Regions from separate parts of the Homo sapiens genome. Here region 1 is linked to region 2. Evidence: promoter capture Hi-C in 16 types of primary human blood cells and fetal thymus (Javierre and others, 2016). All regions are on one chromosome and are shown on one strand. The core of a region is centred on a gene start or on the middle of the fragment in contact, and the rest is flanking DNA. Distances in the headings are between cores, read along the strand shown.

Region 1 (2,844 bases), core at 220-2,719, 150 kb after region 2:
AGGAGGAGGTTGCAGTGAGCTGAGATTGCGCCACTGCACTCCAGCCTGAATGACAGAGTAAGGCCCTGTCTCAATAAATAAATAAAACCTGCTTCTCAAACTTCCCCTTATCTCTCCTGTCTCCCAGCATTTTCTCCCCATTTGAATTTTTGGGCCTCACAGTATCATGGTCACGTCTTGAGATGGGTTTTGCCCAAGTATTAGATGACTTTTTGATTATCCTTTTTTTTTTTTTTTTTTTTTTGAGACAGGGTCTCACTCTGTCACCCAGGCTGTGTCGCCCAGGCTGGAGTGCAGTGGTGCAATCTCGGCTCACTGCAACCTCTGCCTCCCAGTTTCAAGCAATTCTCCTGCCTCAGCCTCCTGAGTAGCTGGGATTACAGGTGTGCACCACCATGCCTGACTAATTTTTGTAGTAATTTTTGTATTTTCACCATGTTGGACAGGCTGGTCTCGAATGCCTGATCTCAAGTGATCCTCCTGCCTTGGCCTCCCAAAGTGCTGGGATTACAGGTGTGAGCCACCACGCCTGGCTTGATTATTCCTGATGAATCACTTTACATGGATGATTGACAGCTCCTGGGGCATATTCCATTCCACTTCAGGTTTTTCCTCTTATTTCCCTCATCTTGCTCTTGTCTCAACACCCATCCCCCCAGCCTCTCTGAACTTAGAATGTCATGTGGAATACTATTCAGTGAAGGGTTTGGGGGCTTTTTTAAAGAATTGACTGTCCTGGCTGGGCATGGTGGCTCACACCTATAATCCCAGCAAATTTGGGAAGCTGAGGCGGGCAGATTGCTTGAGCCCAGGAGTTCTAGACCCGCCTGGAAAAGATGACAAAAACTCCATCTCTCCAAAAAATACAAAAATTAGCTGGACACGGCAGTGTGCCCCTGTACCCCAGCTACTCAGGAGGCAGAGATGGGAGGATTGCTTGAGCCCCGAAGGTTGAAGCTGTAGTGAGCTGTAATCCCATTACTGCACTCCAGCTTGGGTGACAGAATAAAACCTCGTCTCAAAACAAACAAAAAGAATGAATTGACTGTCCTTACACTCTATTTGGGTCTCCCTGAAAACTATTCATGCTTCAACTTTTCTACACTTTGTTCTGGCATGACTAATATATAACAACTGGGCATTAAATGTACTATATATAAAATTCCAGATCAGAGAATGGAAACACTTAAAAATAAAAAAATTTTAAAAAGGGGTTGGCTTATCTGGGCTATTTGGAAACCGTTCAGTGGGGCAGTATAATTTTTATTTTCAGAAGCTTATGGATTGCACCCCACCCAAGCTTCCCGCGCACCTAAGAAGGCTGGCAGAAGACGCCCTGCCAAGTTTCCTTGCGAGTGCAGTAAAGGAGTAATCCTCTGCCCTCTGGTTTTCCTTTCAAAGAAACTAGGGACAGGCGGTGGCCTTGGCTGCCTTGGCCATGAGCTTCCCTGAGCCGGGTAGCTGGTGGGCTAGTGGGGCCGTTGGTGGCAGGTGCAGAAATGGTACCACACTCACTGTCCCATTGCCCAGAAAGAACATTTACAAGTCTGGGGAGAGCGCTCGTAATGGTTGCTGAGTTTGGAGGACAGTTATGTTACAGTCTTGGTGGCTTTTTGATGAATGGTCAGATAAAGCTTCACTATAAACCTATCCAGTTTTACACAGAAAGGACATCTTTTTTACATTTAAAGTTGTGTGTGTGTATATGGGGGAAAGTGGTGGTGTTATAGCTCTGGAGGAAATTAAACCATAGGAAATAGTAAAAACAAGGTCTCTGTGTTCCCACTGTTGACAATTCACAAGTTAAATGGTGGAATGAGAAGGGATAAAAAGGATTTCAGGGGTGCACCTGAGTGCTGTCGCACACATAGGGGTCAGAGTCTAGAATCCCAGTGCTGGGAGGACTTGAGAAGCCATAGATTCCACCCCCGTGGTTTACAGAGAAGGGAATGAAATCCCCATCAATTTGGCCTTTGGCCTAAGCCCTGCTTCTAAAAACCCTTTAGAAGTCTGGCTTGTCATCCCAAAGTGCAGTCCACCAGCTTCCGTCAGCTTGGAAGAGACAGCGCCTCTGCAAGCTAAAACTCAGCTCACGTCCCGGTTGGCAACTGGCAAGAAGGCGGCTTCCCAGTCTTCTGAGAACTGGGTTTCCCTTCTAACTCAGTGGCACCCTCTCTGGGCCCTGGTGGAGAATCACTTAGGAAAGAAGCAGGCTGCTGTCCTCCAGAGTTCCACCCATACCCCTACCATTGACCCTACTCCTACCACTACCCCTCACCCCCATCCCTCACCCCCACCCCCACCCCAACCCCTCACCCCATCCTCACCCCCACCTCTACTCTCCACCCCCACCCCTACCCCCACCCCTACCCTCCACCCCCACCCTACCCCCACCCCTACCCCCACCCCCACCCCTGACCCCCCAACCTCTCACCTCCACCCCTACCCCTCACCCCCACCCCTACCCCTCACCCCTACCCCTCACCCTCACCCCCAACCCTTTCCCTCACCCCCACCCCTACCCCTCACCCCCACCCCTACCCCTCCCCCTCACCCCCATCCTCACCCCCACGCCTACCCTCCACCCCTACCATCACCCCTCTGGGCTAGAGCAGAGCAGAGTGAAAAGTAGCTTAGAGAAGCGAGGATCAGGTGTGCACAGGGTTCCTAACTCTGCTGATATCTTGGGAGGTGCTGGGAAATTTTCCAGTTTACTGGCAGAATTACTCTCCTCCCTAAATTTCAAAAAGCAGAGAAGGACGTTATCTATTCTCTTTTCTGGGGGAAAAAAAAAGTTTTTTTTTGGAGACAGAGGCTCACTCTGTTGCCCAGGCTGGAGTGCAG
Region 2 (2,941 bases), core at 367-2,866:
AGTTTTAAATTGCATAAAATTTACTTTTGTATTTTTGACAAGTTGGACCTCATTGCCTACTTTAATTTCTAATCTCACGTCTGTAAAGTGTGACTGCATTCTCCTTTGTTAGTTTGATCTCTGCTGACTTGCGTCTTTGGTATTACAGTACTTCCATCTTTGACTCTGTTCCCAATTCTAACCATCGGGCGGCGATGTTGCATAAATAAAGACCCGCGGAAAGGCAAAATTAAGCGAAACTGCCAAATAAAAAGCAGTTTCACCGGGGGTAAAGGCCATTAATTTAAGAAGGAAAGAGACAAACCAGACATTTCTAGTTCATATCCAACTCACGGCCCAAGGTCAGAACTGTGTAAAATGCAACACAAAGGAGCCATTCAGGAGTGGGGGAGGCTGACTTGGGGAGAGCGAATGCACAATCCCCGCCTTGAGCCTGCGGTTCCACTGGAGGGGGCACAGGTCCGTTTGCGCACGTGCGTGTGAGTAGCCACAGGGCAGCGGCGGGACATGCCTGCACCGGGCATGGGACTGCTGAACCAACAGCGCTCTGGCGGACCGTTTGGGACACCCGCCCGGAGGCAGGTTGGCACTGGCGCTGCCTGGAGGTCAGCCACTCATTGTACCCCGGAGGAACTGGGTCCCGCGGGGGCATACGGCTCGCCCACCGGCACGCGTTAGGAGGCGAACACCTGCATCCAGCTAGGTGTTCCGAGCTCAGCCCAGGGCGAGGGACTGCTCTGCCACCTTCTTCTCATTCTTCCTGTAAGAACACTGTCTATCTCGGACAAAAAGGACCCACCTGACAGCAAGTGGTATCGTCACACAGAGGTAACAGGGAAGTCACGGATCCTCTTGAGAATCTGACAAAAGTTGGTGCCCCTTCCCCATAGTGGCACTCAGAAAACTGCAGGTGAAACCACAAATGGGCGGAGGCACTCACAGGCTTCCTGGGGCCCGTCCATTGATCAGATACCAGGTTAAGAAATTCTGTCCTTATTGGAGCCTAGACGGCAGCGCAAAGGAACCAGACGGACTTGGAAAGAGAGGCAGGGACTCCCTCCTCCCTCCAAACACAGCCAGCGTTTCATCTCGGATTGCGGGAGGGGCCTGGCGGAAGGTGGAGGAGAGGTGGAGCGCCTGGATGGGGCCCTCCCCATTCTCCTGGCCCCAACCCCAGGACGCCTGGCTGCGGAGGGCTCGAAAGCGAGCAGCGAACGCCCAAAGCCTGGGTGGCGGGAAGGTGGCAGCGCCCTGTAGCTTTTCCTTTGCATTTTTCTTTAAATCGTGAGCTCCGGAGCTATCGTTTCGACCGCTGCTTTCCGGTCTCCACCTCCACCTCCCAGTTGGCTGGCTCGCCCTTCCCCCACCCCCCCATCCCCCCCATCCCCCCCCATCCCCACCCCCATCCCAGCCGCGTGCCCGACCCTCGGCCTCCAGCCCCGCCTCCTTCGCCGCGGGGTTTAACCCGAGGCAGAGTGAAATCTGCATAGTGACCGCCCCCTCGGAGATCATTGGTGCAGCCCCGCCCATCGCGGCCGGTGATTGGTAAGCCGCCCGGGGTTATTTGCATGTCGGACGCAGCCGGGTACCCAGCTGTGCTGCCGGCCGGCGCAGCGCAGAAGTTTGCAGAGCGCTTTCTCGCCGGCTGGTCCCGGACTCGCGCTGCGCCCTGCGCCCTGCGCCGCCGCCTCCTCCTTCTGCCGCCGCCGCCCTGTTCTCCCGGGATTCCTTCTCTGTGGAGGACTGACTCTCTGCTTGTGGGAATTAGAGGTGGACAAGGGGGAGTGCCGGGGGGTAGCGACGGGGTTCTTTCCAGTGGCAGCTGCGAGTCGGGACGCCGGGAGCGTGGGGCTCCTGCTGGCCACGGATCTCGGCCACCTTCCCGCGGCCTCCGGGCAGGCAATGCGGCCGCCGAGCCCCGCGACGCAGAGAGGAAGGAGGGTGGCCCGGAGGGCCTAGAGCTTGTTTCTGCCCACTTGGGAAAGAGGGCATGGAGTTGTGAGTGCCCCTCGCTCGGCGACGCCGCCCTCGGCAGGCTCCCCATGGCCGGGACGTACAGCTCGACTCTGAAGACGCTGGAGGACTTGACCTTGGACTCCGGGTATGGGGCCGGGGACTCGTGCCGCTCGCTCAGCCTCTCGTCCTCCAAGTCCAACTCGCAGGCGCTCAACTCTTCGGCGCAGCAGCACCGCGGGGCGGCCTGGTGGTGCTACTCCGGCTCCATGAACAGCCGCCACAACAGCTGGGACACGGTGAACACGGTGCTGCCCGAGGACCCCGAAGTGGCCGACCTCTTCTCGCGCTGTCCGCGGCTCCCCGAGCTGGAGGAGTTCCCCTGGACCGAAGGAGACGTGGCCCGGGTGCTCCGCAAAGGCGCTGGCGGCCGGCGGCTGCCCCAGTTCTCCGCCGAGGCGGTGAGGCGCCTGGCCGGGCTGCTCCGCAGGGCACTGATCCGCGTGGCCCGCGAGGCGCAGCGCCTGAGCGTGCTGCACGCCAAGTGCACCCGCTTTGAGGTGCAGAGCGCCGTGCGCCTGGTGCACAGCTGGGCGCTGGCCGAGAGCTGCGCGCTGGCAGCCGTCAAGGCGCTGTCCCTGTACAGCATGAGCGCCGGCGACGGGCTGCGCCGGGGCAAGTCCGCGCGCTGCGGCCTCACCTTCTCAGTGGGTCGCTTTTTCCGCTGGATGGTGGACACCCGAATCTCCGTGCGCATCCACGAGTACGCAGCCATCTCCCTCACCGCCTGCATGGAGAACCTGGTGGAGGAGATCCGGGCCAGGGTGATGGCCAGCCACAGCCCTGATGGCGGAGGGGCCGGAGGCGGGGAGGTGTCTGCTGAGGCCCTGGAGATGGTCATCAACAACGACGCCGAGCTCTGGGGCGTCTTGCAGCCCTATGAGCATCTCATCTGCGGCAAGAACGCCAATGGTAAGCGCGCGGGCCT

The links. The method cuts DNA at HindIII sites, captures the fragments that hold promoters and counts their contacts. A CHiCAGO score of 5 or more calls a contact.
Region 1: a contact is called between a fragment that was not itself captured here and the fragment with the promoter of ABTB2 in region 2, in 1 of 17 cell types (M0 macrophages). The highest score is 5.3, in M0 macrophages.

The regions. Positions count from the first base shown.
Region 1 is chr11:34,209,303-34,212,146 of GRCh38, reverse strand. The region is part of intron 1 of ABTB2 (ankyrin repeat and BTB domain containing 2); the gene reads left to right. Among named protein-coding and RNA genes, the nearest start is that of NAT10, 110 kb to the right of the region's middle. The HindIII fragment of the contact is 334 bases long and covers 1,303-1,636 here.
Region 2 is chr11:34,356,685-34,359,625 of GRCh38, reverse strand. ABTB2 (ankyrin repeat and BTB domain containing 2) reads left to right here and starts at 1,616. Exons shown (of 17, transcript NM_145804.3): 1 at 1,616-2,925. The coding sequence starts at 2,043. RefSeq lists a silencer at 1,431-1,630 and an enhancer at 2,581-2,690. The HindIII fragment of the contact is 9,392 bases long and covers 1-2,941 here.